Linked DNA regions of Homo sapiens: all the other regions are linked to region 1. The links are contacts of gene promoters, found by promoter capture Hi-C in blood cells and fetal thymus (Javierre and others, 2016). All regions are on one chromosome and are shown on one strand. The core of a region is centred on a gene start or on the middle of the fragment in contact, and the rest is flanking DNA. Distances in the headings are between cores, read along the strand shown. Region 1 holds the start of TBC1D10B (TBC1 domain family member 10B). Region 2 overlaps PPP4C (protein phosphatase 4 catalytic subunit). Region 3 overlaps SRCAP (Snf2 related CREBBP activator protein). Region 4 holds the start of SEZ6L2 (seizure related 6 homolog like 2). Region 5 has its middle 14 kb from the start of FBRS. Region 6 holds the start of CDIPT (CDP-diacylglycerol--inositol 3-phosphatidyltransferase). Region 7 has its middle 15 kb from the start of ALDOA.

The links. Contacts are between HindIII fragments. The CHiCAGO score rates a contact against its expected background, and 5 or more counts as called.
Region 2: a fragment that was not itself captured here is called in contact with the fragment with the promoter of TBC1D10B in region 1 in 16 of 17 cell types (naive CD8 T cells, naive CD4 T cells, fetal thymus and 13 more); the score reaches 18.9 in naive CD8 T cells.
Region 3: a fragment that was not itself captured here is called in contact with the fragment with the promoter of TBC1D10B in region 1 in 2 of 17 cell types (monocytes and M0 macrophages); the score reaches 5.4 in monocytes.
Region 4: the fragment with the promoter of SEZ6L2 here is called in contact with the fragment with the promoter of TBC1D10B in region 1 in 1 of 17 cell types (M0 macrophages); the score reaches 5.1 in M0 macrophages.
Region 5: a fragment that was not itself captured here is called in contact with the fragment with the promoter of TBC1D10B in region 1 in 1 of 17 cell types (megakaryocytes); the score reaches 5.0 in megakaryocytes.
Region 6: a fragment that was not itself captured here is called in contact with the fragment with the promoter of TBC1D10B in region 1 in 1 of 17 cell types (M0 macrophages); the score reaches 5.1 in M0 macrophages.
Region 7: a contact is called between a fragment that was not itself captured here and the fragment with the promoter of TBC1D10B in region 1, in 15 of 17 cell types (naive CD8 T cells, fetal thymus, endothelial precursors and 12 more). The highest score is 14.2, in naive CD8 T cells.

The regions. Positions count from the first base shown.
Region 1 is chr16:30,369,158-30,371,857 of GRCh38, reverse strand. It overlaps TBC1D10B (TBC1 domain family member 10B), which reads left to right and starts at 1,364. Exons shown (of 9, transcript NM_015527.4): 1 at 1,364-2,630. The coding sequence starts at 1,675. It also overlaps a transcript of MYL11 not described here. RefSeq lists silencers at 1,479-1,768, 1,859-1,938. The HindIII fragment of the contact is 4,560 bases long and covers 1-2,700 here.
Region 2 is chr16:30,077,199-30,080,115 of GRCh38, reverse strand. The region is part of intron 2 of PPP4C (protein phosphatase 4 catalytic subunit); the gene reads right to left. Among named protein-coding and RNA genes, the nearest start is that of PPP4C, 2.7 kb to the right of the region's middle. The HindIII fragment of the contact is 1,018 bases long and covers 946-1,963 here.
Region 3 is chr16:30,726,116-30,728,974 of GRCh38, reverse strand. It overlaps SRCAP (Snf2 related CREBBP activator protein), which reads right to left. Exons shown (of 34, transcript NM_006662.3): 26 at 1-9. Among named protein-coding and RNA genes, the nearest start is that of TMEM265, 13 kb to the left of the region's middle. The HindIII fragment of the contact is 4,495 bases long and covers 1-2,859 here.
Region 4 is chr16:29,897,863-29,900,810 of GRCh38, reverse strand. SEZ6L2 (seizure related 6 homolog like 2) reads left to right here and starts at 1,261. Exons shown (of 18, transcript NM_001243332.2): 1 at 1,261-1,870; 2 at 2,827-2,948. The coding sequence starts at 1,792. It overlaps ASPHD1 (aspartate beta-hydroxylase domain containing 1), which reads right to left and starts at 323. Exons shown (of 3, transcript NM_181718.4): 1 at 1-323. RefSeq lists a silencer at 276-705 and an enhancer at 1,069-1,363. The HindIII fragment of the contact is 3,079 bases long and covers 1-2,081 here.
Region 5 is chr16:30,671,385-30,674,247 of GRCh38, reverse strand. No RefSeq gene overlaps it. Among named protein-coding and RNA genes, the nearest start is that of FBRS, 14 kb to the right of the region's middle. The HindIII fragment of the contact is 4,963 bases long and covers 1-2,863 here.
Region 6 is chr16:29,860,798-29,863,641 of GRCh38, reverse strand. CDIPT (CDP-diacylglycerol--inositol 3-phosphatidyltransferase) reads left to right here and starts at 416. Exons shown (of 6, transcript NM_006319.5): 1 at 416-827; 2 at 922-1,056; 3 at 2,383-2,536. The coding sequence starts at 785. RefSeq lists enhancers at 1-295, 2,451-2,844 and silencers at 344-403, 414-723. The HindIII fragment of the contact is 2,733 bases long and covers 1-2,700 here.
Region 7 is chr16:30,049,245-30,052,117 of GRCh38, reverse strand. It overlaps a transcript of TLCD3B not described here. Among named protein-coding and RNA genes, the nearest start is that of ALDOA, 15 kb to the left of the region's middle. The HindIII fragment of the contact is 2,534 bases long and covers 180-2,713 here.

The sequences.
Region 1 (2,700 bases), core at 115-2,614:
TTTATGCTTGTGATCTAAGGACAACCTGGAGCGCTCATGAGATTGAGGTCGGGATTCTCAGTGGAACATGAGGAGCACAGAGGGATGTGGCAGTGAGGGGAGAGGGGTTGACGGGACTGGGGCCTTGGATCCCCAAAAGAATAGTAACACACATATGGGGAGTTCATGGTATTAGGGATTCATGGATTTGGGGTTTGAGATCCCCACTAGAAGAAATGGAGGGGGTACTCAGAGGGATAAGGTCTGAGGAACTGGAGCCTGGGTTCTGGGGAGGAGCTCAGATAGATGGGAACTGAGGAGAGGGACTTGGAGGTTGGGATTCCCGCAGGAAATGGGTGAAGCAGAGATATGGGTTGCTTATAGGATCTGGGGGCTCTGGCTATTGCCACCTGGGCCTGGAGTGTTGGGGTTAGTTGGGGGCCGAGATCGGAGAATTATAGAGTAAAGGATGAGAGTACTGGGTCAGGGCACTGGATCTGTGGTGGGGCTCAGGGTCCCACAGACCACCAGAGTGTGGGGCTCAGGAGCTGAACGAAGAATAGGGGACCGGAAAGGACTCGAGAGGGGGCAGCGCGGCACTCATTGGTTGAGGGCTGCACTAATGCCCCCGCCCCTTCTCCGTGCTGTCCCCAGCTGTCACCCTCCCATAAGGCTTGTCTCCGGTTGTCACCGACTATCCCTGGGCTGGCACCGCCTGCTGGCAGCATCTTTGCCCTTTGGATGCTCCCATTGGCTGAGACAGCTATCTATTTTCCTGTCCTGTGGCCAAAGTGGGAGAACACGATCATTGGCTGACGGGGCGAATTAATCTCTAGCTTGCCCCGCCTCCTCCCAGCTGTCATTCCTTACTGACCATTTTGGGAGACCTAAAGAATTCTTCAGCTCTTCCTATTGACTGCGGATGCTGTCTGTCACCGCCTAAATAGACATCACTGCCTGTCAATTTGACCTCCACCTGCTCCCCTTTTCATTGGCTCCCTTTTTACCATTCCTATTGGTTAAGAAGCCTCCAGGCCCCACCTCTTACTCGCACAGCCCTGCCTCCTCCTCCGCCCTTCCGCGGTCATTCACCCTTCAGTCATATTCATTGGCCAGGAGGTTCAGACCCCTGCGTTTCTATTGGTTATTTCTTTCGTCCCATCGCCCCCTGCCTTTCCTCGTCCTCTGATTGGTCTTACAGCCCTAGCTTTCTCCGTTTCCTCTTTCCAGATGACCCACCCCTTTTTCGCCTCCAGCCCCGCCCACGATTCCAACGATTGGCAGAAGCCCAGTTCTCTCTCTCCCACTATTCGTCCAAATCCTCTGACTAGGCGGGAGAAAAAAGGAGCGCGATGAGCCAGTCCGCGCGCAGGCGTGGAACGCCGAGACGCTGGCGCGGAGCCGGCTCTGCGGCGTGTGCGCAGGCGCGAGGTCGGCGGCTCGCCCCCAAGCAGGAGGGAGGGGGCGGTGGCGAGAGCGCGCGAGGGGGTGAGAGGGCTCGAGAGAGACCCCGGCGCGCGGCGCCCCCCGACCCCTGCCCCGCCTCTGCGCGCCCAGCGGCCGCTCCGCCCCCGGCGCGCGCCGAGCCGCGCCCTTCGCCCTCTCCCCTTTCTCGGCTGGCCTCGCCGGGAGGCCCGAGGGGCGGCGCCTTCTGCGGCCTCCCCGGCGGGGGGATGTGAGGGGCGGCCCGCGGCCATGGAGACGGGCACGGCGCCCCTGGTGGCCCCGCCGCGCCGTCATGGCGCCCCCGCGGCCCCCTCGCCGCCGCCCCGGGGTTCCCGGGCCGGGCCCGTCGTGGTGGTGGCTCCGGGACCTCCAGTGACTACGGCCACTTCGGCCCCCGTCACCCTGGTGGCCCCCGGGGAGGCGCGGCCCGCCTGGGTCCCGGGGTCGGCCGAGACCTCTGCTCCGGCCCCGGCCCCAGCCCCGGCCCCAGCCCCGGCTGTCACGGGCAGCACGGTGGTGGTGCTGACCCTGGAGGCCTCGCCCGAAGCCCCAAAGCCGCAGCTCCCCTCCGGCCCGGAATCCCCAGAGCCCGCGGCAGTGGCTGGAGTTGAGACATCGAGGGCTCTGGCCGCAGGGGCAGACTCGCCGAAGACAGAGGAGGCTCGACCCTCACCCGCCCCAGGACCAGGGACCCCCACCGGGACCCCTACCAGGACCCCTTCCAGAACGGCTCCTGGTGCCCTGACCGCCAAACCCCCGCTTGCCCCCAAGCCGGGAACCACAGTGGCCTCAGGAGTGACTGCACGGAGTGCATCAGGACAAGTGACAGGTGGGCATGGAGCTGCCGCAGCAACATCAGCATCAGCAGGACAGGCTCCTGAGGACCCCTCAGGCCCTGGCACAGGCCCCTCTGGGACTTGTGAGGCTCCGGTAGCTGTCGTGACCGTGACCCCAGCTCCGGAGCCTGCTGAAAACTCTCAAGACCTGGGCTCCACGTCCAGCCTGGGACCTGGCATCTCTGGGCCTCGAGGGCAGGCCCCGGACACGCTGAGTTACTTGGACTCCGTGAGCCTCATGTCTGGGACCTTGGAGTCCTTGGCGGATGATGTGAGCTCCATGGGCTCAGATTCAGAGATAAACGGGCTGGCCCTGCGCAAGACGGACAAGTATGGCTTCCTTGGGGGCAGCCAGTACTCGGGCAGCCTGTGAGTACCAGTGGGCACCCAGCGGGACCGCCTCGGGGAAGCAAAGGTTGGGGGAGGGCGAAACGAAAAC
Region 2 (2,917 bases), core at 205-2,704, 290 kb after region 1:
ACCTTTGCCTCCCAAAGTGCTGGGATTACAGATGTGAGCCACTGCACCCAGCCTATAGATACCCAATTTAAGCAACACTGTATTTCCAAATTTTGCCTGGTAATAGCAGCAGTGAACATTCGAGCTCATACTGTGTGCCACAAATGTTATTAAGAGCTTGGCAGGCAGGTACTATGATGATTCCCGGTACACAGATGAAGAAATTGAAGCAGGGAAGGAGGCTGGCTTGGTGCCAGTGACACAGGTGGGATATGAACCAGGGAAGCCTGGCTCTGGGGTCTGACTCTTTATCAAGATATTCTGATGTGGGAGGCCCAACTCGCCTGGCCCCCCTCTTTCTGCCAATCTCTTCCCTTAGAATGAGTTTCCTGAGCTCAGTGGACAGGAGGATTCACTTATGCCCCTTGCTCTGTATGGCAGAGGCAGCACGAAGGAGGTCTGCCCTGGCTTTCTGGGAACAGAAGGCAGCACTGGCGGTGGTCCAAGAGGCCACATCAGTACCCGGACTCTCCCACCTGCACTGCTTCTTGTGCTGAACATCCTTCCCCATCAACTGCTCATAGTGACCTTTCCAACAGACTGGGGAGGTTCTCTTCAGCCTCACGTAACAGTAAAGAAACCGAAGCTAGGCCGGGCGCGGTGGCTCATGCCTGTAATCCCAGCACTTTGGGAAGCCAAGGCAGGCAGATCATGAGGTCAAGAGATTGAGACCATCCTGGCCAACATGGTGAAACCCCGTCTCTAGTAAATATACAAAAATTAGCTGGGCATGGTGGCGCGTGCCTGTAATCCCAGCTACTTGGGAGGCTGAGGTAGGAGAATCACTTGAACCTAGGAGGTGGAGGTTGCAGTGAGCCAAGATCAGGCCACTGGCACTCCAGCCTGGGCAACAACAGCAAAACTCTGTCTCAAAAAAAAAAAAAAAGAAAAAAAGAAACCAAAGCTTACAGAAAAGCGGGAGGGTCAAGGTCACCAAGCTGGAGAGTGGCTAAATTGGAACCCAGAAGCCCAATTTCCTGAGAATTTATGCCAGCCCCTTCCACAGACCCTGAGTGAAAACCTGAAGCCCAGGGAGGTCACATGCAGGGCCCGTGCTCTCTGCAAAGCCCCCCTCAGTGCCAGCGCAACCCCAGTGTGGCCTGGGAATCAGGCCCAGATTCCAGCCCCAGTTCTGCCACTTGCAGCACTTCCCCAGCCCTATCAGGACCTGCCTGCAGTAACGGCTACCAGCGCAGCAGGCCCTGTGCCCGGATACCCGGACTCTCAACTGCATGTCATTATCACTTCAAAAAATCAGAAAGTGACTTGACGAGGGTCATATTGCTTCTAGGTGACAAGGCAAAGATTCATACTGAAGACCACCTGATTCAAAAGCTCAGCTCTCCTACTGTGCTAATATTTCTAGTAGCAGCAATTTCAGCTCAGACACTGCGGACCTCTGTGCTTCCACTGGTTTCATCTGCATGTCTGTGCCCTCTAGGCAAGCTGGTGCTCTTGACACCACCAGCCTCAGCCTGGGTCTCTGATGGGTCCCCAGGAGGCCATAACCAGGTATCAGAGATGGCCCTGCTTCAGACTGAGCCTGGGACAACAGCGGCCAACTCAGGCCTTGGCCTAGTACCTCCTAGTTCCACTCAGTTTCAACTGGGCAGGACCCTCCACCCCTCAGCCTTCCATGGCTTCCTGCTGCCTCACACCCCACATCAAAATCTAAATGCCTCTGCCTGGCTCTCAGTGACCACGGAGCACAGTCAAAGACCTGGATGCAAAACTAACTTCCCCTCCGACTAGCTGCGTGATGTTGGGCAAGACATTATCTACTCAAAGGCTCAGTTTCCTCTGCTATGAAATGGGGCTAAGTACTCAGCCCACCCTGCGTATTCCTTAGGCTGTTGCAAGGAGCCATGGAGACTGAATATACGACTTCCTGCTATTCTGCAAACTCCAGCATGCTATCTAAGCTTTGTCTACCATCACCACCACACTGATCCAGGGCCCGTGAGGGAGACAATACTTCGAGGTTAAAGAATAGTGCCAGGCAACAACAGGTTTAAGTTCCTAAAAATGCCAATCAGGACTGAGGGAAAGGGGACAACTAAAAACACCATGGGGCTGGTCTGGTCAGCTGGCAAAAGAGAAAAGCCACAGACAGGTGGCGAAAAAGAGGCCGACCCTGCTCATCATCCCCTCACAGGCCCTGTCTGGCTGCAGGTAGTCTATGTGAGGCAGGGCCAGGCAAAGAGCCTGAGGGCCACAGATTCAGGACCCAGCTCTGCCACGTCCTCAGTGGGTGACCTCAGTTAAGTCACCAGACCTCTACGAGTCATGGCTTCCTATTCGATAAAATGCAGCAAATGATTCCAACCTCATAGGATTGCTGGGGGGAAGAGATGGATAGAAGTTTTTTGCCAGTACCGGGCCAGGCCAAATAGTGGCCCTGTAAAGGCCAATGTTTACTGTTCAATAAACGTAGGGTAATTCTGTGGGCTCTTCTGCCACAATTCTCCAGCCTGGTAGAAGCCACAATCACACAGTTCCCCAGAGGAGGCAGGTAATTAAACCCCTGACTGTTCCCCACGCATCTCAGGGCCTCCACTGTTACATTCGTCCTGCTTGGAATGCCCTTCCCTCACTGGCCCTGCCTCCATCAGCTAGCCAAATTATCTTCATCCTTCAAGGCCTACCTCCACTCAAAAGCCCTCCCTGATGGCTTTAGCCCATCTCATTATTGCCCTCTTCCAAAAGAAATAGAATACCTGGTGATTATCAAGCACGTATGCTGTACCAAAACACTGTGCTAACCTCATCTCCAGCACCAACTCACTGAATCTTCACAATCATCTTATTAAGTACTATTAATTCTGCTTTACAAATAAAGACACTTAAGATTACTAACACAGCTAGAAAGCGGCAGAGT
Region 3 (2,859 bases), core at 294-2,793, 360 kb before region 1:
CAGGGAGTCCTGGGGGTGAGAGAAAAAGAGGAAGTAATCAGCACCCTCAGAGTCCACATCAAAACCTGACTGTTCTTCCCAGATGGAAATAAATATATAGAAACCATGGGATCCAAAAATACACTATGCTTTTTGTAGTTTTCCAAGTTATCAATGAGAACTATTCTTTCTCAGAAGTTATGTTAAATAACTTTCTTTTTTATGTTAAATAACTATTCTTTCTCAGAAGTTATGTTAAGTAACTTCTCTCCTAGAGAAAACTGATCTTTCCTTGTATGCTACCAAAGCAGAATGACTGAATATTCAAAATTAAGATCTACAATTCCAACAAGTTTATAGAATGGACGATTTGTGGGTATTTTCCTACGTAACACTCAACTCCAGGACTATAGCCTTCTTCAAATCACTGACCAGGATACAGAGGCGCCAATCAAATCCAGACCAGGTTTTTGCCAAGGGCCAGACTGGAATGGGGTGGAATGGGAACAGCTAACCGGACATCCGAGTCTCATCACTCTGAGACAGAAAATGGGCAACCCGGCAGTGAGGACACCTGGATGACTTTGACCCAATCCTTTCCCATCTTTGTGCTTCCAGTTTCACAGTCTGAAAAACTTCTTTGTATCACTTATTATGCTTGTAGTTACACATCTGTATGATTATTTAACTAATATCTATCCACTACACGGTAGGCCCCATACAACATGAACTGTGCCTTGCTCACTATAATCACTCAGTAACTAGCACAATTAAGCTCTCAATACATTTATCTGTTAACAAAATGAACAAATGAGGGAGACTAGACCCCAAGAGATAGTTGTGAAAAGAGGAGTGTTCCAAATCTCCTTCCTGACTGCTACCAAGTTTCACCTCTTGGCTTGAAGTGCTCTATGTGAGGGAAAAAAGGTGTCCTAGCAGACGGAAAAACCAATAAACTCAAAGAGCTAGTTCCTTTTGAGGCTAGCTCCCAATAGTAGCAAAAAGAGAAAATCTGGCCAGGAGCAGTGGCTCAAGCCTATAATCCCAGCACTTTGGGAGGCCTAGGTGGATGGTTTGAGCCTCCTATTCAAGACCAGTTTGGGCAACATGGCAAAACCGCATCTCTACAAAAAATACAAACAAGGGCCAGGCGCGGTGGCTCACACCTGTAATCCCAGCACTTTGGGAGGCCGAGGCGGGCAGATCATGAGCTCAAGATATCAAGACCATCCTGGCCAACATGATGAAACCCTATCTCTACTAAAATTACAAAAAAGTTAGCTGGGCGTGGTGGTGCAAGCCTGTAGTCCCAGCTACTTGGGAGGCTGAGCAGGAGAATCGCTTGAACCTGGGAGGCGGAGGTTGCAGTGAGCTGAGATCGCACCACTGCACTGCAGCCTGGTGACAGAGTGAGTCTCCATCTCAAAAAAAGAAACAAACAAGTAGCCTGGCATGGTGGCACAAGCCTACAGTCCCAGCTACTTGGAGGGCTGAGATGGGAGGTTCACTTAAGCCCAGGAGGCTGCAATGAGCGGAGACTGTGCCACTGCACTCTAGCCTGATTGACAAAGTGAGACACTGTCTCAAAAAAAAGACTATTTGTAAACCATACGTCTGAAAAAGGATCTGTAATCAGAATATATAAAGAACTCTTACAACTCAATAATAAAAAGACAACCCATTTTAAAAGGGCAGAGGATCTGAACAGATAGTTCTTCAAAGATACACAAATGGCCAGCATGGTATTTCAACCACATGAAATAAAGCTCAACATTAGCCAACAGGGAAATTCAAATCAAAATCACAATGAACTACTACTTCACACCCAGCAGGATGGCTATAATCAAAGTGATGATGTGCCAGGCATGGTGGCTCACACCTGTAATCCTAGCACTTTGGGAGGCTGAGGCGGGCAGATCACTTGAGGTGTGGAATTCGAAACCAGCGTGGCAAACATGGTAAACCCCATCTCTACTAAAAATACAAAAAAATCTGGCCAGGTGCAGTGGCTCATGTCTATAATCCCAGCACTTTGGGAGGCCAAGGCAGGCGGATCACCTGAGGTCAGGAGTTCGAGACCAGCCCGGCCAACATGGTGAAACCCCATCTCTACTAAAAATAAAAAAATTAGCCAGGCGTGGTGACGCCATGCCTGTAGTCCCAGCCACTCGGGAAGATGACACAGGAAAATCGTTTGAGCCTGGGAAGTGGAGGTTGCAGTGAGCCGGGATGGTGCCACTTTACTCCAGCCTGGGCAACAGAGCAAGATTCTGTCTCAAAAATAAAATAAAATAATAAGAATACAAAAAAATTAGGTAGGCATGGTGCCACATGCCTGTAATCCCAGCTACGAGGGAGGTTGAGGTGGGGTCACTTAAACCCAGGAGACAGAGGTTGCAGTGAGCCAAGACCGTGCCAAAGCACTCCAGCCTGGGTAACAGAGCAAGACTCCTTCTCAAAAAAAAAAAAAAAAGTATTGGCTCAAATGTGGAGAAACTGGAATCCTCACAGACTGCTGGTGGTAATGTCAAATGCTGCAGCCACTTTGGAAAAGTCTGGCAGTTCCTTAAACAGTTAAAACCTAGTTACAATATAACCCAGCAATTCTTCTCCTCAGTATGTATCTAACAGAAACTGAGAACACCTGTCCATACAAAAACTTGTACATGAAATGTTCACAGCAGCATTGTTCATAACAACCATAAAGCAGAAGTAACACACGTTTCCATCAACTCAAGGATAAAATGTGGTATTCATACATTATTATTCAACATAAAAACAAATGAAGTACTGATATACGCTATAACACAATAAAATTCAAAGAACATTAATCTAAGTAGAAGATGCCAGTCACAATGGACCACACATTATACATTATGA
Region 4 (2,948 bases), core at 12-2,511, 470 kb after region 1:
CCCCACCCCCGCTTTTCGCTCGCTCTCTCTCCCCGCTTCCTCCTAGCTCCCCTGGGCAGCGGTTCCTACCCTGCCTGGACCTGCAGTCCCGGGAACCCGCAGCCTGTCTTCCTCCGCGGCAGCTTCTTTCTCTCCGGCCTCACTGCTCTCTCCTTGCCCTCGCTCCTCACTAGCCCCGACCCTGCGGTCCTGCCTGGCTCTCGCTCCCTCTCTCCTACTCGCTCCTTCCTGGGCTCCCACTCACCCTGACGTCACTCCTTCCCGGAGCCCTCTCAGCTCAGCCACCCCCGAACCCTCCCAGTGGCACAGCAAATCAGCCGGGTGCCGGGGGAGGGGGGAGAGTTGTCGCTGGAGGTGCCTCCCCACCCCCCCCGCCCGGAAAGGGCGCCACGTGGGGCGCAGGGGCCACGGTGCCAGCCTCCAGCCGTCCCGCAATGCGAAAGAAGGGGCGGGTCGTATCGGGCGGGGCCTGAGGGGCGGGGCCTGAGGGGCGGGGCGAGCGCGGACTGACGGCTGGGCAGGCGCCCGGGACTGCGGGCAAGGATGCTGAGGCCAGTCCGTCGGGCGGCTGGTCCGTCGGTCGGTCGGCCTGTGACTCCCGCTGGCCCTAGGCAGCCCGGGAGCCCGCGAGCCTGGCAAACACCGAAAGCGGCCTCAGCCAATCGCGGGCGGCGTCGGGCCGGGCCCGCCCCGGCGGGGCGAGGGGAGCTGTCCGCGCGCCGCTGGTGCTGAAAAGGGCGCTCCGGAGGGAAAATCAGAGCCGAGGCCGCCTGTTAGCTGGCCGGGGTCAGGGTTTATGGAAGAGGAGGGGTCTGTCTCTCCTCCCCAAACCCCGGCCCGTCACCCACGAGACTTGTCACAATCGTGGAAGCTCTCTATTCCCCTGGAGGAGGGAGAGCCCATTCCACCCGAGCTACTGTAAAAGGGGAAGGGAAGCCCCTTGGGAGGTCTGAATGTGAACAGGGGGCATAATTGGGGGCCTAGCAGGCGCGAACCAAGCTATGCAGCCCCTCGGCACCCTGGGAAGAGGAGATTCAGATTCCAGATGTGCTGGAATGGCAGGCGGAGGGGGCTAATTACTGCTGGGACCAGAGAGTTTCCTTTGCCTCCCCTAGGGGCCGCGGGAGTGAGGATTACGGCCCTGGCTCGTATGATCCCTCCCTCCTCCATCTGCACTTCCTCCTCCTCCCTCCCCGTCAAATAAATCCCAGGCCCCTCCCTCCGCCCGTCCCCAGGATCTGACGTGGGCTCGATACCTTTCTCAGCTTCTCCCTCCCGCAGCTCCAGTGCCCGAGCTTCGGCTCTCCCAGTTCCCCAACCCACCCCTTCCCCTCCCCGACAAGCCCCGCTAGAGCCCAGTGGAGACCCCCTCGATCCTCGACCCCACCCTAAACCCCCAGAAGCTGTCTTTCTCCTCCCCAGTCCCCTAGCTTGGGGTCCAGACAGCCCAGTGGACCCAGGCGCCTGAGCAGGAGGGTAACCCAGGCCACCCGGCCCCTTCGGCCCTCTCGGCCCCACCCCCTGCAGCCGGAGCCGCGCCCCCTCCACCACAGAGCCGCGAGAAGAGGACAGAGGAGACTGAGCAAAGGGGGGTGGGCTCCAGGCGACCCCTAGCCCAATTCTGCCCCTCCATCCCAAGGGGCAGAGAAATTGTCTTTCTTTGCTGACTCCTACGAGGAAAAAAAAAAAAAAAAAAAAAACAATTAAAGGGAAAGATAAACGGAGACGGAGGAAAGGTGGCAGCCAGATTACTTAGAGAGGCACAGAGGAGAGAGATCGGGGTGAGTCGCCATGGGGACTCCCAGGGCCCAGCACCCGCCGCCTCCCCAGCTGCTGTTCCTAATTCTGCTGAGCTGTCCCTGGATCCAGGGTAAGGACATGAGACTGTGGGGGTGGGCCCCAGGAAGGCGTCCAGCGGGGTCCTCCACCCTCCTTTCTCTTAATATCCTGGGTCTTCCGAGCACATGGGGGAGGGGAGAGGCACAGCTGATGGGGAAGGGGCAAGCCAGAGCTTTCAGGCTTGAACCCGAAGCCCCTTAACCCTCAATATTGAGAAGGCAGAGAAATGAATGAGAGAAGCTTTTAGCAGTGTCTCAGGGGCTAGATCCAAGAAGGAGGGCTGGGAAAGTTGGGGGGATGTCTGCGGAGGCGGCAGAAGCATGGAGGGACCTGGGTGGGAGATGGAGGTGCTGAGAGAGATGCCAGGCGCTGTACACACAACTGTTCTTGGATGAATGGACAAAGACAGATGAGCAGAGGCAGGGCTCAAAGACCAGATTTTCAGTCCCCCACTCTGACCCCCAGCCAGACTCCAGGGAAGGAGGCAGAGACTGCAGAGGACCAGAGAGAGAGAGGGTGGGGGGGAGAGAGAGAGAGAGAGAGAGAGAAAAGACAGCCACACTGCAGAGACAGAAACCCAGAGAGAAAGCCAGGCACTGCGGAAGCAAGGGCTGGGAGGTGCGGCCAGATCCTCTGCAGAGCCCCAGGGTTGGGGGGAGATCACCACTGAGGTGAAAGGGAAGGCAGCACCGGCGACCCCTCTGCCTTGCTGGCGCTGTCCAGGGTCCATAAGAGCTAAGGTGTTCAATGAAGGCCCACACAGCCCAGGGAGAAGGGAGAGGGGAGGGGAGAGAAGAGGTGTGGGAGTGGGAGTATGAGGGCAGCTGGGAGCCCCTCCTCCGATCTTGGCCCTCAGTCGAGCCTGGGACCATCTGAGCCCCTGCAGGCCCAGCTGATGGAGGAGGGAGGAAGAGTTCTAGAAAATATCTCTCTGGAGAAGGAAGGGGTGTGGGGAAGTGGAGAAGCTCACACAACTTCACCTCCTAGGTCTGCCCCTGAAGGAGGAGGAGATATTGCCAGAGCCTGGAAGTGAGACCCCCACGGTGGCCTCTGAGGCCCTGGCTGAACTGCTTCATGGGGCCCTGCTGAGGAGGGGCCCAGAGATGGGC
Region 5 (2,863 bases), core at 169-2,668, 300 kb before region 1:
GTAATCCCGGCATTTTGGGAGGCTGAGGCGGGCGGATCACCTGAGGTCAGGAGTTCGAGACGAGGCTGGCCAACATTTAGTGTGACTCCTGTCTCTACTAAAAATACAAAAAATTAGCCAGGCATGGTGTTGCATGCCTGTAATCCCAGCTACTTGCGAGGCTGAGACAGGAGAATCGCTTGAATCTGGGAGGCGCAGGTTGCAGTGACCTGAGATTGTGCCACTGCACTCCAGCCTGGACAACAGAGCAAGACTCTGTCTAAAAAAAAAAAAAAGAGAGAGAGAAAGAAAGAAAATATTTCACTGAGAGTCACTCTCAAATGCCTATAGGGGCCAGAGAGGTAGCCTGAATAGTGACTGTGGTCTACTCCAAGACAACAAGTGGAGGGGACAGTCGCAATCTGGTGAGATTATGCCCCATTTCAAAGGAAAGCCATGGGGGTAAGCAGGTCTAGTGACCACAGATTTTTGGATTTTTCAAGAGAAGCTGAAAACAAGAACTTCCATGTGAAATCTTGTCTGCAAGCCAACGTTCACCTTCTGGTCACTTGTTTCTGACTTCTGTTGGAGCAATCTAGGCTTGAGCCTTCCCTAGACATCCTGGATATGTGTGGTGGTGGCAGGGAATGTTGGCTGCATCTTTCCTAAGGCAACAGGTACATTTATGGGCCAGGCACAGTGGCTCACGCCTGTAATTCCAGCGCTTTCAGAAGTTGAGGCAGGAGGATTGCTTGGGACCAGGAGTTTGAGACCAGCTTGGACAACAAGACAAGAACCCTGTCTCTACAAAAATTTAAAGCTAGCCAAATGTGGTGGCACAGGCTTGTAGTTCCAGCTACTCGAGAGGCTGAGGCAGGAGGATCACTTGGGAATAGGAGTTCGAGGCTGAAGTGATCTGTGATTGCACCACTGTACTCCAGCCTGGGCAACAGACCGGCTGTTGTTTTGCTCAAAAGCTGCCTCAAAAGCAAAACAAGTCTGGGTGTGGTGGCTCACACCTGTAATCCCTGGACTTTGGGAGGCCAAGGGGGTAGATAGCTTGAGTCCAGGAGTTTGAGACCAGCCTGGGCAACATGGAAAAATTCTGTTTCTACAAAAAATACAAAAACTAGCTGGGTGTGGTGGTGCATGCCTATAGTCCCAGCTACTCGGGAGGCTGAGGCGGGAGGACTGCTTGAGCCCAGGAGGTGGAGGTTGCAGTGAGCTGAAATCATACTACTACACTCTAACCTGGGTGATAGAGTGAGACCCTGTCTCAAAAAAGAAAAAAAGCAGGCATACTTAGAATAAGGTCACTCAGTCAATTCTATAGGAGCTCAGGTAGGCAACAGCCCTGACAGCCCAGTTTAGTAGTGACTTGCTTTTTTTTTTTTTTTTTAGACAGAGTCTCGCCCCGTCACCCAGGCTGGAAAATCTCAGCTCACTGCAACCTCCGCCTCCCGGATTCAAGTGATTCTCCCGCCTCAGCCTCCTGAGTAGCTGGGACTACAGGAGTCAGCCACCATGCCCAGCTTTTTGTATTCTGTAGTAGAGACAGGGTTTCACCATGTTGACCAGGCTGATCTTGAACTCCTGACCTCAGGGATGTACCCATCTTGGCTTCCCAAAGTTCTGGGATCACAGGCGTGAACCACCACGCCTGGCCTTCGTGTTTGAGTCACATTTGGTTAATTCTCCCATTATCTCAAACTTTTCCATTATTGTATCTATTATAGTGATCTGTGATCTTTGATGTTACTATTGTAATTGCTTTGGGGTGCCACAAACAGTGCCCATGTAAGAGGGCGAACTCAATCAATAAATGTGTGTTAACTGTTCTCTCTCTGTGCTTGGGCCTCCCTCTTCCCAGAGACAATATTCAAACTAGGCCAATTAATAACACCCTACAATGGCCTCTAAGTGTTCAAGTGAAAGGAAGAGGCAATCAAGGAGGCAAAGTTCCTTGTTGTCAAGAAACCGCCGTCATCCCAGCCTTCACCGACCACCACCTCAGTCAGTCAGCAGCCATCACCAATGAGGCAAGAACTTCCACCAGCAAAAAGATTACGACTTGCAAAAGCTCAGATGACTGTTAGCATTTAAAAAATTAAGGGATGTACCGTTTTCATAGACATAACACTATTGCTCACTTAAGACTGCAGTATTGTGGAACAGTAATTTTTTTTTTTTTTGGAAATGGAGTCTCGCTCTGTCGCCCAGGCTGGAGTGCAGTGGCGTTACCTCAGCTCACCGCAACCTCAACCTCCTGGGTTCAAGCAATTCTCCTGCTTCAGCCTCCTGAGTAGCTGGGACTACAGGCGCACGCTATCATGCTTGGCTAATTTTTGTATTTTTAGTGGAGACAGGGTTTCACCATGTTGGCCAGGATGGTCTACAATCTCCTGACCTCGTGATCCATCTGCCTCAACCTCCCAAAGTGCTGGGATTACAGGCGTGAGCCACCATGCCCAGCCAGAACCATAACATTTATATGCACCAGGAAATGAAAAAATTCATGTGCCTCGCTTTGTTGCAGTGACCTGTAGTAGCTAGAAAAATAACTGGAGGAATTTCCCCGAAAATTAACAGTGGTTGCCAGGTGCGGTGGCTCACGCCTGTAATCCCAGCACTTTGTGAGGCCAAGGCAGGCAGATCACCTGAGGTTGGGAGTTAGAGACCAGCCCGACCAACATAGAGAAACCCCATCTCTATTAAAAAAAAAAAAAAAAAAAAAAACAAAATTAGCCAGGCGTGGTGGCGCATGCCTGTAATCCCAGCTACTCGGGAGGCTGAGGCAGGAGAATCGCTTGAACCCGGGAGACAGAGGTTGCGGTGAGCCGAGATCGTGCCATTGCACTCCAGCTTGGGCAACAAGAGCGAAACT
Region 6 (2,844 bases), core at 85-2,584, 510 kb after region 1:
AATCCTCCCATCACAAGGGGCACGCGAAAAGCAACCCATCTGCAGGGCGCTCTGGAGCCTCTCTAGCCGCCTAGAGCCTGCGAGAGCAAAGGCGGCTGGAGACTTAGGGGGCGGGGAGTAAAGTGAGGACTGCACCAAATCTCCTGGCCTCTTGGGGACGCAAAGACTCAGGAGGAGGAATTTTATCGCCTTATCTTTGCCTCCAGGAAGTCATACCCTCCACAAAAGGAAAGCAGAGATTTTTATTCGGTCTTCTCTTTTACCCTTTCCTTTTCCGTTTCTAACTTTGCTTGACGTTAATGGTTCCTTCCTCCCTCTCCTCCTCTGCGCTTTGGTACGAGCCAAGGGAGAGGGGCGGAGGGAGGAAAAGGGAAAGGAAGCCGACAGGCCTTAAAGGGGCCGCAACTATTTTTTTAAGCCACTTTTTCCTCTCTCCAATTTTGCAACGACGGGCGCGGAGGAGGAGGTTCCCGGAAGCCACGCGCAGCTGGAGCAGCGGCGACCGCAGCTGGAGGCCCGGAGCGCCTGCGGGGCTGGCAGAGGCGAGGGAGGTTGCGGGTAGGAAGGGCGGACTGCGCGCGCCCCCTGCGTCCCGCGCACCTCGGGGCCGGTCCATGCTCCCGACGGCTGCGGGCTTCAGCATCTGGGGCCAGGTTGGGGCGGCGGGGTCCAGGGCGCAGGTGGTGCGGCCGATGCGCCGGGCCGGAGGCTGAGGCCGCGCTGCGGGGCTGGGACAGCACTGGCATCTCCAGAGCAGGCCCGGGGCAGCAAGGGAGGCGCCGCGATGCCAGACGAAAATATCTTCCTGTTCGTGCCCAACCTCATCGGTGAGTGCTGCCCACGGCCCCGGGCCGAACGAGAGGGCGAGGGGCCTTGGCGGGCTCCCTGATCCTGCCCTGTCTCCCCGCGTCCCGTTCCAAGGTTATGCCCGGATTGTCTTCGCCATCATTTCTTTCTACTTCATGCCCTGCTGCCCCCTCACGGCCTCCTCCTTCTACCTGCTCAGCGGCCTGCTGGACGCTTTCGATGGACACGCTGCTCGCGCTCTTAATCAAGGTGACAGACACCCCTCTCAGCCAGCCTTGGGGTTCAACAATCCCCTCCTCCCTTCCCCTGCCTCCTCGGGACCTCAGAGTCAGAGGGCTGTCATTCCCATCTCTGGAAAAAGCAGAACAGGATGGCCTGGGGCTTTTTGTTTTGTGTTTTGTTTTTTTGTTTTTGAGACAGGGTCTCGCTCTGTCACTTAGGCTGGAGTGCAGTGGCGCGATCATGGCTCACTGCAGCCCCCATCTTCTGGGCTCAAGTAATCCTCCCACCTCAGCCTCCTGACTAGCTGGGACTACAGGAGCGTGCCACCACACCCGGCTAATTTTTAAATTTTTGTAGAGACTGGGTCTTGCAGTGTCGCCCAGATTGGTCCCCAGCTCCTAGCCTCAAGCGATCCTCCTGCCTTGCTCCCAAAGTGCCGCGCCCAGCAAGAATGGACTGATTTTGTAGCAAAAGGAATTTAAGCTAGCTCTTGAGAACTCACTGCTTGTGAGAGGTGTGGATTAGCAAGACATGACATGGCGGTGGCGCTGCTGGAGGTCTCTCTGAATACAAGTCCATTCAGGCCAGGGGCGGTGGCTCACGCCTGTAATCCCAGCACTTTGGGAGGCCGAGGTGGGTGGATCACGAGTTCAGGAGTTCGAGACCAGCCTGGCCAACATGGTGAAACCCTGTCTCTACTAAAAATACAAAAATTAGCGGGCTTGGTGACGCGTGCCTGTAATCCCAGCTACTCGGGAGGCTAAGGCAGGAGAATTGCTTGAACCCGGGAGGCGGAGGTTGCAGTGAGCCAAGATTGCGCCATTGCACTCCAGCCTGGGCGACAGAGCAAGACTCTGTCTCGGAAAAAAAAAAACAAAAAACAAAAAACAGTGTATTCAACAGGTGTTTACTGGAGGCCTACTGTGTGCCCTGCATAAGCAGTTGGGGTTCCAGAAGGCATGCTTAGAGGGAGGATGGAGAGGGAAGGGTGATGGCTTCTGGAGGGTTGACTAATTTTTTAATCTGTTCTCCAGACCCAACTGTAAGGCTTCCCCTGAGGCATCAAGTCTCTATCTAGCCCTGGAGTCTTGGTTCTGGGGTTGATGAGTTGCAGACATAGCTTTCCTCTCCTCCTACCCTGTTCCCTCCACTCTCATGCCTTTCTCAGTTCATGCCATGGTGACCTTTGCCCACTGACCTCACACACAGCCTGTTTTCTAGCCTGCGTTCCTCCCCAGGCAGGCGGACACTTCCAGTCTTCGTTTACACCCTGCGTCAGAGTGATAAACCAAATATGGGCACCTGTCCTGCATCCACTGTGCCATAACAGCCCTTGCCCACCTAATCTTCCAGGAACCCGGTTTGGGGCCATGCTGGACATGCTGACGGACCGCTGCTCCACCATGTGCCTGTTGGTCAACCTGGCCCTGCTGTACCCTGGAGCCACGCTGTTCTTCCAAATCAGCATGAGTTTGGATGTGGCCAGTCACTGGCTGCACCTCCACAGGTCTGCTGCGATTCTGGGGGCCTGGGCCACTTGGAGACATTACAGTGGGGTGGGCTGAGCCTAGACGGAAGGGTGTCTGGGATGGCACTAGGCATCCTGGAAGGGCTCCTTTTTAGCTCTGCTTTGTAGAAAGACCCCAGGCAAACCTGCCTCTCTTTAAAGCTTCAGTCATGTTTACAGTTGCATTAAGCAATTCTTAGGACTCTTCTGGCTGGGTATTCTAGGATTCCATATAGGTGACAGCTTATAGGAAGGGGCATGGGAGCTTTCAAATGTGGCATTTGAATCCTGACTCTGCCCCCAAATAG
Region 7 (2,873 bases), core at 197-2,696, 320 kb after region 1:
TAGGATTACTGGCATGAGCCACTGTGCCCAGCCTTTTTTTCTGAATTTTTAGAGATGTGGTCTTGCTATGTTGTTAAGGCTGGTCTTGAACTCCTGGGCTCAAGCAGTCCTCCAGCCTCAGCCTCCCAGGTAGCTGGGATTACAGGCATAAGCCACCTTCAGTAGGATCTGCTGAAGCTTCCTGAACCAGTGTGTAGGGTCTCACATTTCCACAGCTTTGCAGTTGCTGATCCCTCTGCCTGGAACACCCTCTGTCTTCCCCTCAAACCTCTTCCTCATCCCTCAAGCACGTCCTCAGTTTTGCCTCTGTGAGGTCTCCCTGCCAACCTCAGGCAGAGGTGGCTGCTTTGGACTGTGAATTCCCACAGCATCCTACAGATACTGTTGTTCTCGCACTTCTCACAAGATACTTGAATTCCTCACTTCCATGTCTGGCTCCACAATTAGACTGCAAGTGTCTGGGGCCTGGTCTGAGTCATCTCCGTATCCTGAGCTCTAGTACTTGGCCTAGCCCTGGGAGCCTTGGTGAATACTCACTGATTCTTTTTCTTTCTTTCTTTCTTTTTTCTTTTCTTTTCTTTTTTTTTTTTTTTTTTGAAACGGAGTTTTGCTCTTGTCGCCCAGGCTGGAGTGCAATGGTGTGATCTCAGCTCACTGCAACCTCCGCCCTGGATTCAAGCAATTCTCCTGCCTCAGCTTCCAGAGTAGCTGGAAGTGCCACCATGCCCAGCTAATTTTGTATTTTTAGTAGAGACGGGGTTTGTCCATGTTGGTCAGGCTGGTCTCGAACTCCCGACCTTAGGTGTTCTGCCCGCCTTGGCCTCCCAAAGTGCTGGGATTACAGGTGTGAGCCACTGCGCCTGGCCTGTTTTTTTCTTTTAATAAAGTAGACATGGGGTCTCACTATGTTGGCCAGGCTAGTCTCCAACTCCTGCCTCAAATGATCCTCCCACCTCGGCCTCCCAGGTTGCTGGTATTACAGGCCAGAGCCACTGCACTCAGCCAATACTCACTGATTCTATGAATGAATTGAAACCAAACACCATCCACGAATGAAGCATTGTTTTCCACACGTCCTAATTTCCTTGGCTTTCAAGGCACTCAGACCTCCCCGTTTCATTCCTAACCTTTTTAGATCACACACACACAGACACTTGCACACACCCACACATGCACGCTCACACAAGCACCCCTCTCTATGGAGGCCTCCGACTTCCTAAACGATGGCTGAATCCTGGCATTTTCCCCTAAAAACAATGCCACCATATACCTATTTTTGTCCATGTTCTCCACCCCAACATACCTCACCACAGCTGCTGCTCCTGGGGTTTCCTACACCATGAGGCAGCCACGGAAACTGCCAGGGGCTGTGTCCCTGGATCCAAATCTTCCCTCCCACTGTCAACCATACTGAGGTGGTCTCAGCCACCCTCTTGGCCACCCCTGGCCCTCTCAGAGGGCGTTTCAAGCCCAGAAAACAGAAGTCTAGCTGTTGCTAATGTCACCATTATTGATCCTAAAGAAGATTGTCTTCTTAGGCTGTCTTCCGGTTTTTGTTTTTGTTTTTGTTTTTTTTGAGACAGAGTCTCACTCGGTAGCCCAGGCTGGAGTGCAATGGCACAATCATGGCTCACCACAACAGCCTCGACCTCCTGGCTCAAGGGATCCTTCCACCTCAGTCTCCCAAGTAGCTGAGACTACAGGTGCATGCTACGACACCCAGCTAATTTTTAAAATTTTTTGTATAGACGGGGTCTCACTGTATTGCTCAGGCTGTTTTTGAACTCCTGGGCTCAGGCGATCCTCCTGCCTCAGCCTCTCGAATTGCTGGGATTACAAGCGTGAACCACTGTGCCCGGCCTTGGGCGGTCTTATTGTCTGATGGAATCCTGAGGACCAAGTTGAGGCCAGTTCTCACCTCAGCCCTACAAAAGGCCTCCAGGAACACATATTCTGCATATTCTGCCAACAGAGAGACTTCAGCCTTGGCAAGGCCCCTGGACACGTCCGTGGCCTGCAGTGCCCAGACTCGCTGGTGCTGGTGTTTTGTTCCTACCATGGGCTCATACATTATGCAGGAGCACGGGCAGTGCCCCAGGCTTGTGTGTTGCCAGGCAAGCCAAGACAAGGGATGATGTATGCACCCCACTTTGCCAAGGCCCCATTTCTTTTCTTTCTCTTTTTTTTTTTTTTTGAGATGGAGTCTTGCTCTGTTGCCCACGCTAGAGTGCAGTGGTGCGATCTCAGCGCACTGCAACCTCTGCCTCCCAAGTTGAGTGATTCTCCTATCTCAGCCTCCCAAATAGCTGGGATTACAGACGCATGCCACCATGCCCGGCTAATTTTTGTATTTTTAGTAGAGACAGGGTTTCACCATGTTGGCCAGGCTAGTCTTAAACTCCTGACCTTGTGATTTGTCCACGTCGGCCTCCCAAAGTGCTGGGTTACAGATGTGAGCTACTGCGCCTGGCTGTGCCGAGGCCCCACTTCTATCCACATCACAACATTTGCTGGGGGCAGAGAAAAACTGACTTCACAATAGCCAGCTAACCGCAAAGTCTCCTCTCCCGAAGTTGGAAGCTGGAGATGTCAGATGTATCATATGTAGTTCCGCACTTCCCCTAGGAAAGGGCAGACAGGATTGTATACTTCCAATAATCGTGGGGTGGGTGGGAGATCAGAGATGCAGAGTTCCCAGAAGATGAAAGAAGCTTCAGCAGGCTTGGACGTGGGAAGGGACCTGGCAGTTCTGATTCTGATCTAATACTTTCAGCTGCCTCCAATGGACATCCAACGATATCATCTCCCAGAGATTAAGAAGAGGTTCACCAGCCTCCTTAGTATAAAATGAAAGGCTTGTGTTTAGGTAATTA